2 separate regions of the Homo sapiens genome follow, and region 1 is linked to region 2. The links are contacts of gene promoters, found by promoter capture Hi-C in human tissues and cell types (Jung and others, 2019). All regions are on one chromosome and are shown on one strand. The core of a region is centred on a gene start or on the middle of the fragment in contact, and the rest is flanking DNA. Distances in the headings are between cores, read along the strand shown. Region 1 has its middle 14 kb from the start of PIP. Region 2 holds the start of OR6V1 (olfactory receptor family 6 subfamily V member 1).

Region 1 (6,937 bases), core at 3,566-6,065, 68 kb after region 2:
TAAAATACTGGCAAACCGAATCCAGCAGCACATCAGAAAGCTTATCGACACGGTCAAGTCAGCTTCATTCCTGGAATGCAAGGCTGGTTCAACATACACAAATCAATAAATGTAATCCATCACAGAAACAGAACCATTGACAAAAAGCACATGATTATCTCAATAGAGGCAGAAAAGGCCTTCAACAAAATACAACAACCCTTCATGCTAAAAACTCTCAATACACTAAGTATTGATGGACTGCATCTCAAAATAATAAGAGGTATTTGTGACAAATCCACAGCCAATATCATACTAAATGGGCAAAAACTGGAAGCATTCCCTTTGAAAACTGGCACAAGACAGAGATGCCCTCTCTCACGACTCCTATTCAACATAGTGTTGGAAGTTCTGGCCAGGGCAGTCAGGCAAGAGAAAGAAATAAAGGTATTTAATTAGGAAAAGAGGAAGTCAAATTGTCCCTGTTTGCAAATGACATGATTCTATATTTAGAAAACCCCATTGTCTCAGCCCAAAATCTCCTTAAGCTGATAAGCAACTTCAGCAAAGTCTCAGGATACAAAATCAATGTGCAAAAATCTCAAGTGTTCCTATACACCAATGATTGACAAACAGAGAGCCAATTCATGAGTGAACTCCCATTCACAATTGCTTCAAAGAGAATAAAATACCTAGGAATCCAACTTACAAGGGATGTGAAGGACCTCTTCAAGGAGAACTACAAACCACTGCTCAATGAAATAAAAAGGACACAAACAAATGGAAGAACATTCCATGCTCATGCAAAGGAAGAATCAATATCATCAAAATGGCCATACTGCCCAAGGTAATTTATAGATTCAATGCCATCCCCATCAAGCTACCAATGACTTTCTTCACAGAACTGGAAAAAAACTACTTTAAAGTTCATATGGAACCAAAAAAGAGCCCACATTGCCAAGACAATCCTAAGCAAAAAGAACAAAGCTGGAGGCATCATGCTACCTGACTTCAAAGTATACTACAAGGCTACAGTAACCAAAACAGCATGGTACTGGTACCAAAACAGAGATATAGACCAATGGAACAGAACAGAGGCCTCAGAAATAACACCACACATCATCTATAACCATCTGATCTTTGCCAAACCTGACAAAAACAAGCAATGAGGAAAGGATTCCCTATTTAATAAATGGTGCTCGGAAAACAGGCTAGTCATATGTAGAAAGCTGAAACTGGATCCCTTCCTTACACCTTATGCAAAAATTAATTCAAGATGGATTAAAGACTTAAATGTTAGACCTAAAACCATAAAAACCCTAGAAGAAAACCTAGGCAATACCATTCAGGACATAGGCACAGGCAAGGACTGCATGACTAAAACACCAAAACCAATGGCAACAAAAGCCAAAATAGGCAGATGGAATCTAAACTAAAGAGCTTCTGCACAGCAAAAGAAACTACCATCAGAGTGAATAGGAAACCCACAGAATGTGAGAAAATTTTTGCAGTCTACCCATCTGACAAAGGGCTAATATCCAGAATCTACAAAGAACTTAAACAAATTTACAAGAAAAAAACAACCACATCAAAAAGTGGGCAAAGGATACGAACAGACACTTCTCAAAAGAAGACATTTATGCAGCCAACAGACACATGAAAAAATGCTCATCATCACTGGTCACCAGAGAAATGCAAATCAAAACCACAATGGGATACCATCTCATGCCAGTTAGAACGGTGATCATTAAAAAGTCAGGAAACAACAGATGCTGGAGAGGATATGGAGAAATACGAAAGCTTTTACACTGTTGGTGGGAGTGTAAACTAGTTCAACCATTCTGGAAGACAGTGTGGCGATTCCTCAGGGATTTAGAGCTAGAAATACCATTTGACCCAGTGATCCCCTTACTGGGTATATACCCAAAGGATTGTAAATCATGCTACTATAAAGACACATGCACACGTAAGTTTATTGAGGCACTATTCACAATAGCAAAGACTTGGAACCAACCCAAATGTCCATCAATGATAGACTGGATTAAGAAAATGTGGCACATATACACTATGGAATACTATGCAGCCATAAAAAGGATGACTTCATGTCCTTTGCAGGGACATGGATGAAGCTGGAAACAATCATTCTGAGCAAACTATCACAAGGACAGAAAACCAAACACCGCATGTTCTCACTCTTAGGTGGGAATTGAACAATGAGAACACTTGGTCACAGGGTGGGGAACATCACACACCGGGGCCTGTCATGGGGTGGGTGGGGGAGGGATAGCACTGGGAGAAATACCTGATGTAAATGATGAGTTGATGGGTGCAGCAGGCCAGCATGGCACATGTATACCTATGTAACGAGTCTGCATGTTGTGCACATGTACCCTAGAACTTAAAGCATATTAAAAAAAATTTAAAAAGTAGCAGGCAACATGGTGTTGGCCAGGTAGAGAACCCACCTGCATAATAAAAGATTAGGGTTGGTGGGGGCAGCTTCTTCACATGCTATGCAAACAGCACACCTAGTCCTAGCCAGTTCTTTCTGTGCTATGCAAATGGCACACCTGGCCTGACCAATCTTTCACGCCCTATGTAAATCAGATACCGCCTCCTCAAGCTCATCTAAAAAATTTCCTACACTTCACTGCAGACTGGAAAACTTGCTCCGGACCCCCTCTCTCTTCAGGAGAGAGCTTTTCTCTTTCTTTTGCCTGTTAAGCCTCTGTTCTTAACCTCACTGCTTGTGTATCCACATCCTTGATTTCCTTGGTGTGAGGCAACAAATCTCAGGTATTACCCCAGATGAACGATGCTGCTTCACTGGGACTCAAATCATTTCATCCAAAGCTCATAGGTTAGGAGTTTTTCAAAGGCAGTTTGGGGGAAGGGGTCGGGGTGGCTAGGTTTGCTGCTAATTGGTTGGGCTGGAGATGAAATCATAGGCGTTAAAGCTGTACTCCTGCAGGCTGGATAGCTTGTAGGTGGGGCCACAGCAGTGGGATTGGTGGGTCCAGGTGGAGCCATGGGTGTTAGACATGCAAAAAAACCTGAAAGGATGTCTCAAAGGGTCAGTCTACAAAAGTGGTGTCATCTGCAGGAATAATTGGAGAAGTTGCCTATCTTATAACCTCAAGAATAGTGGCAAACAATCATTCATGTCTGAGTCTTAGCCAGACTCAGCCTCCTCTCCTTCCCCAAGCCTCATGGCCTCCCATTAGCTTTACAAAGCCTGTTAAGTTTTAGGCCTGCTATCATTTAAACTATAGTCTAAATGTCTTCCAAAAGTATTAGATTGGTTCAAAGCTAACTGCAGTTTTGCCATTAAAAGTAATGGCAAAAACTGCAATTACTTTTGCACCAAACTATAGCTTAGGGCGAGGCACAGTGGTTCATGCCTGTAATCCTAGCACTTTGGGAGGCTGAGGTGGGTGGATCACTTGAGGCCGGGAGTTTGAGATCAGCCTGGCCAACATGGGAAAACACCTAATCTACTAAAAATAAAAAAATTAGCCAGGCATTGTGGCGCACTCCTGTAATCCCAGCTACTTGGGTGACTGAGGCACGAAAACAACTTGAACCCTGGAGACAGAGGTTGCAATGAGCTGAGATAGTGCCACTGCACTCCAACCTGTGTGATGGAGCAAGACATTGTCTCAAAAAAAAAAAAAAGAAAAAGAAAAAGTTAGCTTAGCCCTATCGCCCAGGAATAAAGGAAACAGCAAGATGGGGCAGTGGGGTAGTTAGCTCAACTTACTGTTATATTACTCATTGATACAATTTTTGCAAAGGTGGTTTTAGTATGACTCTACACCTTTTGGGTCACCCATTTGTAATCCATTCTACTGAAGGAAGCCAAAATATTACCCTCTAAAACACTTAGGATTGTTGAGCTAAACACAGCTAAAAGGCAGGGAGATTCTCTGCCCTTCTTTTGTTTGCCTAAAGCGAGGACATAAATCCTCCCTTACTGGAGACAGCTGCTTATTAGCCCACTAATGGGCCAGGGGAATCTGTGAGCAGACTTTACCTCTATAAATTTGCCTTCCTATATTTGCCCACCTTTTGGCACTACCCCTATGGGCAGATTTTGTCTTCCTGCTTCATTAAATATCTCTTTAAATTTTTCATCTGAACTCTCTGTGTAGCCAGTCAACTGAGAAGCTGAGACCCTAGAGAATATGGCCAGAGTGATATGGGTTGTACACCCATTTGTAGCTAGCAAAACTTTTCTCTCTTTGAACTTTCTTTGGCATGAATCTGGAATCTTGTGAGAACTGTCCTGCATCTCTTTGGAGAAGGCTCGTTGATCAATGTATTGATTACATCATAACATTGGTTAAAGCTTATTGGTTTTGGTGAGTCACTTGCAAAGATACCTTTGGTTTAAAAGAGGGGGGAAATGGTACAAAAGCAGGAATATTGACTGTTCTGGCTGAAATATGATAAGAGACTTGAAGTTTTTTTTTTAAGATCTCTATAGTCAAAAGTCGATTTAATTAAAAGCTGATATTTAAGATACATATGCATATATACTTTTTAATTGGGCCTCTGTTCTCTATAAAAACTTGTCAGTTGACTAAATTTCTTTCTTCTTAACCCTTTTGTCAAGAAAAACAGTAAAATATTTGAAGAGATTTATTCTGAGCCCAATAAGAATGACCAATGACCCATGACACAGCTCTCAGGAGATCCTGAGAACATGTGCCCAAAGTGGTTGAACTACAACTTGGTTTTATATATTTTAGGGAGACATAAGACGTCAATCAATTAATGTAAGATGTATATTGGTTTAATCCAGAAAAATGGGACAATAGGAAGTGGGGGCCCCAGATCATAGGCAGATTCTAAGATTTTCTGATTGGCAATTGGTTGAAAGAGTTATTGTCTAAAGACCTGAAATCAATACAAAGAAATTTCTGTGTTAAGATAAGGGATTTTAGAGACCAAGGTTTTATCACACTGATGAAGCCTCCAGGTAGCGGGCCTCAGAGAGAATAGATTGTAAACGTTTCCTATCAGACTTAAAGATTCTATTAGTATTTTTTTTGACAGAGTCTCACTCTGTTGTCCAGGCTAGAGTGCAGTGGCGCAATCTCAGCTCACTGGAACCTCCACCTCCTGAGTTCAAGTGATTCTCCTGCCTCAGCTTCCTAAGTAGCTGGGACTACAGGCATGGGCCACCATACCCAGCTAATTTTTGTATTTTTAGTAGAGACAGGGTTTCACCATGTTGGCCATGCTCCTGACTTCATGTGATCCACCTGCCTCTGCCTTCCAAAGTGCTGGGATTACAGGAGCGAGCCACCACATCCAGCCTGCTCTATTAGTCTTAAGGTCTTTGTGTTGATGTTAACACTGGTCAGCTGCGAGGCATGTCCAGTGGCACCCCACTTCCCATCATGGCCTGAACTAATTTTTCAGATTAACTTTGGAATGTCCTTGGCAGAGGGGAGGGCCCATCAGTCAGTTAGGGGGCTTAGAATTTTATTTCTTTTTTATACCTTACTAACTGTATGCACTCCCTTAGTTTGCTTCTGTTTTGTTGACATGATTTGTGCCAAGAATGATGTAAAACTTCACTGGCCTTTTGAAAGCTTAAACTCTTTCTCTGTACTATGAAACATAAATTTCCTACCTTGTTTTGTAAATCAGTAAGGGCTTCAGCCTGTGAGACAGATAAACTTTAACTCGTTCCATTTACAAAGCCACAGTTTGATTCCAACTGTCTTTTTAAACTACTGAGTTTTGCCTGACTCATGGGTAAAATATTAAAATCTGTGAACCCTAAATAACTGAGACAGGTCTCAGTCAAATTAGAAAGTTTGTTTTGCCAAAGCTAAGAAAGCACCCATGACACAGCCTCAGGACATCCTGACAACATGTGCCCAAGGTGGTCAGGGTACAGCTTGCTTTATTTTAGGGAGATATGAGGCATCAATCAAATGTGTAAAATGTACATTGGTTCGTTCCAGTAAGGCAGGACAACTCAAAGTGGGGGTTTCCATGTTAGAAGTAGATAAAAGACAAAAGGCTGCATTATTTTAAGTACTTGATCAGTCTTCCACTGAATACACAATTTAATCTGTCTCAGTGAATCTGCATTTTTACATAAACAATAGGTCAGAGGAAGTAATTAGATATGCATCTGTCTCAGGCAAGCCTCAGAGGGACAATTTTGAGTTCTGTCTGTTCTTTGTCCACAAAGAATTTCCTTGTGGGAAAATTGTGAGGGAGGTATGTGGCTTCTTATCTCTGTAGCTATCTTATTTAGGGATAATAAAATGGGAGGCAGGTTTGCCCTAAGCAGTCCCCGGCTTGCCTTTTCCCTTTGGCTTAGTGATTTTGTGGTGCCAAGATTTATTTTCCTTTCACAAATCAAAACTATAAAATCTTTGTCTGTATTTTTATACTTGTGTAAATGTTTGTGTTTGTATATAGTATACAAGTGACAAAACTGACTTTTAAAAAGGCCCAAATGAACCTTTAAGTTTCTTGCCTTTAGGATACTTGCCTAACATATAGTAATATAAAAATAGTTAATAGAAAATTTAACTTGAGATGATGGCCAAATGTGTCCTATGTCTTATAAACTTTTCCAAACATAATTGTTAAGAGTGAATAAATTAAATAGATGTAAATGGGATGAGTTCATAAATGAACTATTAATACCTATTAAGTTTTATAATATGCTTACTTAAAAAGGTTGTGATGGTTAATTCTGAGTGTCAACTTGATAGGACTGAAAAATGCAAATTATTGATCCTGGGTGTGTCTTTGAGGGTGTTGCCAAAGGAGACTAACATTTGAGTCAGTGGGCTGGGAAAGGCAGACCCACCCTTAATCTGGGTGAGCACCATCAAAATCAGCTGCTAGAATATAAAGCAGACAGGAAAACGTAAAATGACAAGACTGGGACCAGGTGCAGTGGTTCACGCCTGTAACCCCAGCACTT
Region 2 (6,969 bases), core at 1,263-3,762:
TCCTGAGGGACTTATTTCCCATCTCCCAGCCCCACATCAATGCTGCTGCCCCTGGCTTTGTAGTGACACAGGGTAGGTGCTGAATTAGAAAATCAGCATAAGGACTGGCAGAGTTTTAGCTCACCCAGCAGTGCCACCTCTTCCAAGCTGTGCACAAAGCCCCTTTCCACCCTTTCCAGCCGCAAGACACAACCCAAGGGAAAGAGACTGCATCTCTGATGTCATTCATGTTATAGAGTGAGGCCAGTAGGCAGGTGTCTCCAGGTATGAATGCCTAAGTGAGAGCAGCTTACAAAGAAGACAACAGGCTTGGAGGCTAAGGTGAGGGGGGGAAGTCTGTATGTCAGTCAGGTTCTCATGCAACACAAACATAAGGACTGGGTTTGAATTTAGTCAGTGCTGGGGTAGATTTTAGGATTTTAGACCTACCGTTAAGGCTTGCCAGTGGCATGGGTGCAAGGCTTTATTTATTTATTTATTTATTTATTTATTTATTTATTTATTTTTTATTGTTTTTGAGATGGAGTCTAGCTTTGTCATCCAGGCTGGAGTGTATTGGCATGATCTCAGCTCACTGCAATCCCACATCCCAGGTTCAAGTGATTCTCCTACCTCAGCCTCCCAAGTAGCTGGGATTACAAGTGCCCGCCACCATGCCCAGCTAATTTTTGTATTTTTAGTAGAGACGGGGTTTCACTGTGTTGGCCAGGCTGGTCTTGAACTCCTGACCTCGTGATCCGCCCACCTCAGCCTGCCAAACAGCTGGGATTACAAGCGTGAGCTACCGCGCCTGGCCGGGTGCAAGGCTTTTTAAAATTAGAATGTCATTGCTGTGTGGCCAGGACACAACCCCAAATGAAGCATTTATGGGGCTGGAGAAAGGGCCAGAGTATATCTACACACAGCTTCACTCCTTCCACTCCTGACAGTTTGTGTTGTAAATACTTTGTTTGTGTTTGAAATGTTTTAAAGTACCCTTTTAGTGAACTGAAATTCCAAGAAACAGTGTAAAGCTGTAAAGATCTTCACACACACACATGCTGGCAATGAGAAGAAGTGTAGAGAGATGATGGGCAAAAAAAATTTGAGTTCTATTGACGGTCTAACAATAAGAACAGTGATAACAATAACAACAACGATTTGTTGGCTAGTATGTGCTAGTCACTGCACTAAGTAGTTTACTTATTTAATTTTATAATCACCATAGAGGCTAAGTACCAGTAATACCATTATTTTACAGCTGAATAAACGGGCTCAGAGAGAGTAAGTAACAAAGAAGAGCAGATTTACGGCCCGTGACAAGCAAGTCTAGAGCCAGAATTCAAACACAGGCAAGCCAACTCCATAGCTTACACTTTGCACCACGGCGGGAGGGGAAGTGCAATGGAGACGGCAAAGCAGCACCCTTGGGTAGACAGATTATGCCGTTGGGAAGCCTGATGACTGTGTGTGTCCTGGGAGAGCAGCCACTTGGATTTCCAGGCTCGCTCCCTGACCTGCTGCACCCTTTCTGCTCTCCATCTTTGCAAACACGAAGCAGAGGTCTCCTCTAAAGGAAGTTAATTTCTGGACTCAAAACTCTGACTTTCACTAATTTCATGATCATAGCCGGAGAAATGTGCACAAGCGAGGGTCCTCAGAGAGGCAGCTCAGAAAGGTTTGCAGGGACCCTTTAAAAAGGGTCTTGGGGCACAACCTCTGGGTGTGACATAGACGGATTAGCCTACATTTGGGGGCTTCTGGGTCACATGCACTAATGCTCTCTCTCCCTCTCTTTTTCTGTGTTCCTCCCCTTCCTGTATTTCTCTATTTGAATTTTTTCTGTTCTTTCTCTGGTCCTCTGTTGTTTCCTTCTTGTTTTCTCCCTAAATGTCAATGTCTGTTGCCATGTGGTCTTCCTTAATCTTTTCCTCTGTTTTTCTTTCTTCCCCCCCTTTTTTTTTTTCTTTTTTGAGATGGAGTCTCACTCTGTCACCCAGGCTGGAGTGCAGTGGCACGATTTCGGCTCACTGCAACCTCCACCTCCCAGGTTCAAGCGATTCTCATGCCTCAGTTTTGCAGGTAGCTGAGATTACAGTTGCCTGCACCTGGCTTATTTTTGTATTTTTAGTAGAGACAGGGTTTCACCATGTTGGCCAGGCTGGTCTTGAACTCCTGACCTCAAGTGTTCCCCCTGCCTCGGCCTCCCAAAGTGCTGGGATTACAGGCATGAACCACCATCCCCAGCCTTCTCTCTTCTTAATAATGGCTTTCTATGTCTTTCACTTCTCTCATACCCTCACTCTGTTTCTCCTTGACTCTCCCATTCCTGTTTTGTTATCTTTCTTTATTGCCGTTTCTTTCTGCTTTTCTGTTTATCACTCGCTGGCTACTTGCCTTTCTCTCTCTATTCTCTGTCTCTGTCCCTGTTTCTTCTGTTTCAAGTTCAATGGTTCTCTGTCTCTATCTCTCTGTTTCTGCCTCTCCGTCTGTCTTTTGTTTCTCTTGCATGCAGGGCCCCATACTGTGGATCATGGCAAATCTGAGCCAGCCCTCCGAATTTGTCCTCTTGGGCTTCTCCTCCTTTGGTGAGCTGCAGGCCCTTCTGTATGGCCCCTTCCTCATGCTTTATCTTCTCGCCTTCATGGGAAACACCATCATCATAGTTATGGTCATAGCTGACACCCACCTACATACACCCATGTACTTCTTCCTGGGCAATTTTTCCCTGCTGGAGATCTTGGTAACCATGACTGCAGTGCCCAGGATGCTCTCAGACCTGTTGGTCCCCCACAAAGTCATTACCTTCACTGGCTGCATGGTCCAGTTCTACTTCCACTTTTCCCTGGGGTCCACCTCCTTCCTCATCCTGACAGACATGGCCCTTGATCGCTTTGTGGCCATCTGCCACCCACTGCGCTATGGCACTCTGATGAGCCGGGCTATGTGTGTCCAGCTGGCTGGGGCTGCCTGGGCAGCTCCTTTCCTAGCCATGGTACCCACTGTCCTCTCCCGAGCTCATCTTGATTACTGCCATGGCGACGTCATCAACCACTTCTTCTGTGACAATGAACCTCTCCTGCAGTTGTCATGCTCTGACACTCGCCTGTTGGAATTCTGGGACTTTCTGATGGCCTTGACCTTTGTCCTCAGCTCCTTCCTGGTGACCCTCATCTCCTATGGCTACATAGTGACCACTGTGCTGCGGATCCCCTCTGCCAGCAGCTGCCAGAAGGCTTTCTCCACTTGCGGGTCTCACCTCACACTGGTCTTCATCGGCTACAGTAGTACCATCTTTCTGTATGTCAGGCCTGGCAAAGCTCACTCTGTGCAAGTCAGGAAGGTCGTGGCCTTGGTGACTTCAGTTCTCACCCCCTTTCTCAATCCCTTTATCCTTACCTTCTGCAATCAGACAGTTAAAACAGTGCTACAGGGGCAGATGCAGAGGCTGAAAGGCCTTTGCAAGGCACAATGATGAGCCCAGGGCCCAGGGGAACCTGGCCTGCCTCCATTGAGCAGTTCTGTGGGGAGGGAGACCTCCAGCAAGTGGGAAGAACACTGCTGAGTTTCTTTAGTTTTTTTCCCTCTGAGCAATAACTACAGTGAGCCCTGAGTGCTGCACTGTCTGGCCCAAAGCTCTTATGGACCACCATGGAAGAGTTCCCTACATCCCCTGGCAGCCGTAAGAACTCTGAGAGTAGCCCAGAGCTTTCAGTAAAGGGAAGTGCATGTGCTTTGCATTTAAGGAAGAGCAGCCAAGAAGTGCTCTATGATCAAGAGGTAGTGTCCAATCCCAGTATGTGTGCATGGGTGTGTATGTGTGTACATATGTGTGTATGCGTGTGCATGTTCCGGGTGTGCTTCTCTATCACAGTATGCACTGCTGCTGAGTGTATGCACCATAAGTGCTTGGGCTACATGGGATCAAGAGAAGAAGCAAAACTTACCAAAAACAAACTGATTGTTTTTCAATGTGTGTGTGAGTGTTGGGAGGAGGACTGGGTCCTTGTATAATTATTCATCCATTTATTCATTCATTTCTTCAACATTGAGTAGGCTGTGTGTGTCAGGCACTGTAACAGGTAGAGGGTAGAAAGGTAAAAAAGGCATAAATGGTTCTTAACCTGACAAAGCTCTTGGCCTAAGGAAGGAAAAAGTGATAAATAGCTGTTTCCAGCACAGTGGGGAACGTGCAACAGTGGATTCACAGACGGTATTATGAGCACACAGGGGAGCAACACTGAGACCAGGAGGAGGCTCAGCGACGGCTTCCTGACAAGATGACACCTGAGTAGCACATTGACTATAAGGTGGACACTGTGAGAGTGCAATTCATCAGGTACCTTTGCATCAGAGAAAGATGAAACAGAGAGAAATTAAAACAAGATAAATCTCCGCTAGTGAGGAATTATGTGGTTTCCAGAGAGGAAATATTCAGAGTTTTAGAAAGACAAAATAAACTTTGCTCCTGTATGATTAGAAACATTCATTTGCCTAAAGGCAAGGGATTGTAATAAACCTAGTAAGTTCACTTATTCAGTGATTATATATCCTATTTTACACACATACATATTATATTGTACATTACATAAAATATGAACATTATATTACATTCACATACGTGTGGGTATAAAATTCTTGAAAATCTATTATGTCCCATGCTGCCTTTGGAGTTAAACATCAGCTCCACTGTCCTCCCTCCTCCAACTATAGCCTGAAATTTTTAAAATCTTCCAGTTACTTTGACCTCAGGATCATGGTGTTCCCTTAGCTTTTGCCCATGCAGAATTTTCTAAAGTAGCCCCAATTTAAGTTGTTTTGACACACTGTTTCTGTAAGTACACTTTAATTTACCAAACTCCATATCCCAATTTGTGATATATAAACTACAACCAGGAGTTTATTCGTAGCTACACTTACTTGAAAACAATAAAACTACTAATTTATCACAAATGTCAAGCATTTAAAAAATCCACTATGTGGAAATGAATGAGGTAAGCTCATTTGGAGCTTGAGAGATGCAGCTTGCTTACCAACCCATTGGTTCTCCTTGTGACCTCCTCTTACCCCAAGCTAACTCCTTCCTAAACGAGGCATCCCTTTCTCTGGCTTTCTGAAAGTGTCTTTCTTTCTTGCTGAGATACCCCTTAGCCAAGTCGGAGGGTCTTTTCACATTCCCAGTTTCAGTTTCTGGACCAAAATTTTGCTTGTTCTTTAATTACATAACAGAGCAATGATTCTGTTGTTTGCAGTTGCTATTGAATGAATTGATGTTTTTTTCCTCTGTTTATTCTCTGCTTGCTACCTAGAAAAGTATTTGTAGAGTAAATGAAAGAAGGATGAGTAAATTAAGAATAATTCTACTAACAATATCTTACTTTTGTATACTTTTCATACTTTATGAACCACTTTTACATATATTTTCCATTTGGTTTTACCCTCATAGTAATTCAGTTAAATAAATATTCACTGATCACCCATCATGAGCAAAACACTCCACTCAGCAGTGGCTGTTAAAGATGAAAGAAATGAGGAGTCTGACCTCAAGGGGTTCCATGTACTGAGAGAAATTTAAAAGTGTGGTTAATTTCAATAAGGTGTTTTCCTATAGAGTATGAGAGCTCGGAAGGAAAATTTCTGATTCTGAAACTGCAGCAAGCGGTGTTCCCGACCCGCTTTAGCGGGTAAGGGAAACATGGCTGAGAGGAAGAATGAGTTGGTCAAAGAAATTGCAGAACCGACAGCAGGATCTGGTTCTTCAAACCTTTTTTTCCATCTCCCCATCTTTGGAATTTTCTTCTTCCATCTGAATTAAAAGTTGGGTTAATTCAAAGTTGGAACCTCCAGGATCTGAAGCTGCTCAGTTTTGCCTCCTCTAGACCCTTACTGAGCACATATCTATCAAGATTCTACAAGTTTGTAGATTTGTAATGGCAACAATTCTAGTAACCCCTTCCTCACAGTAATTGCACATTTAGTATCCATCACTTGAAAGAAACACATATTGGCAGAAAGCAAGTATAGATTCAATGTTACTTTTAAAGATTTGTGTTTCAATATCAAAGGCATAGAAGCAACCTAGATGCCCATCAATGGTGGACTGGATAAAGAAAATGTGGTACATATACACTATGGAATACTATGCAGCCATAAAAAAGAGTGAGGGCATGTCCTTTGCAGCAACTCAGATGGAGCTGGAAGCCATTTTCCTAAGCAAATTAAGACAGAAACAAAAAACCAAATACCACATCTTCTCTTATAAATGGGAGCTAAATATTGAGTATACATGGACACAAAGAAGGGTATAATAGACACTGGAACCTACTTTAGGATGGAGGGAGGGAGGAGGGTGAGGATTGAAAAACTATCAGGTATTATGCTGATTACTTGGGTGACAAAGCTATCTGTACACCAAACCTCAGCAACATGCAATTTACCCAGGTAACAAACTTGCACATGTACCCCTTGAACCCAGAATAAAAGTTGGAAAGAAGGAAAAAAAGATTTGTATTTTATTTATCACCACTGTTTCCACAAACATTTGAAATAGAGCAAATAATACCTACACATGTAAGATATTTTTATTTTGAATAAATATTTTGATTCTGTTCATATACAATGTTAATTATACAGTGGATTCACAGTCCCTTTGCTATGACATCATTTTCCCTGGGAGGTGAGAACAGTTGATGTGGTTGTTTGTCTATGTAAGGTTGTTGGATGTAGATGCACAGATGGCAACAGCCTTTCCACTTCATAGAAGTGGCTTACACTGGAACCTAATTTCAGGGTGGTAGGAGGGCAAGGTTGCTTTCAATACCCAGAACTAATTTAAGTGTGGGCGAAATCATGACAGGATTTCGTGAAACTAAAATGTTTTCCCTGGCCCCAAATATCCTCCCACACACCCTTCATTTGTCTGGCATCCTAGTTCTAAATGGCTAACCCAAGAATCCATTCTCACACATGTATATCCCAGTGGGAAGCCAA

Evidence for each region. The method cuts DNA at HindIII sites, captures the fragments that hold promoters and counts their contacts. A contact is called where the count stands out against the background at its distance.
Region 1: a contact is called between a fragment that was not itself captured here and the fragment with the promoter of OR6V1 in region 2, in 2 of the 25 tissues and cell types used here (H1 embryonic stem cells and heart right ventricle).

What each region holds. Positions count from the first base shown.
Region 1 is chr7:143,115,048-143,121,984 of GRCh38, forward strand. No RefSeq gene overlaps it. Among named protein-coding and RNA genes, the nearest start is that of PIP, 14 kb to the right of the region's middle. The HindIII fragment of the contact is 3,524 bases long and covers 3,054-6,577 here.
Region 2 is chr7:143,049,829-143,056,797 of GRCh38, forward strand. It overlaps OR6V1 (olfactory receptor family 6 subfamily V member 1), which reads left to right and starts at 2,513. Exons shown (of 1, transcript NM_001001667.1): 1 at 2,513-3,454. The coding sequence starts at 2,513. The coding sequence ends at 3,454. The HindIII fragment of the contact is 14,465 bases long and covers 1-6,969 here.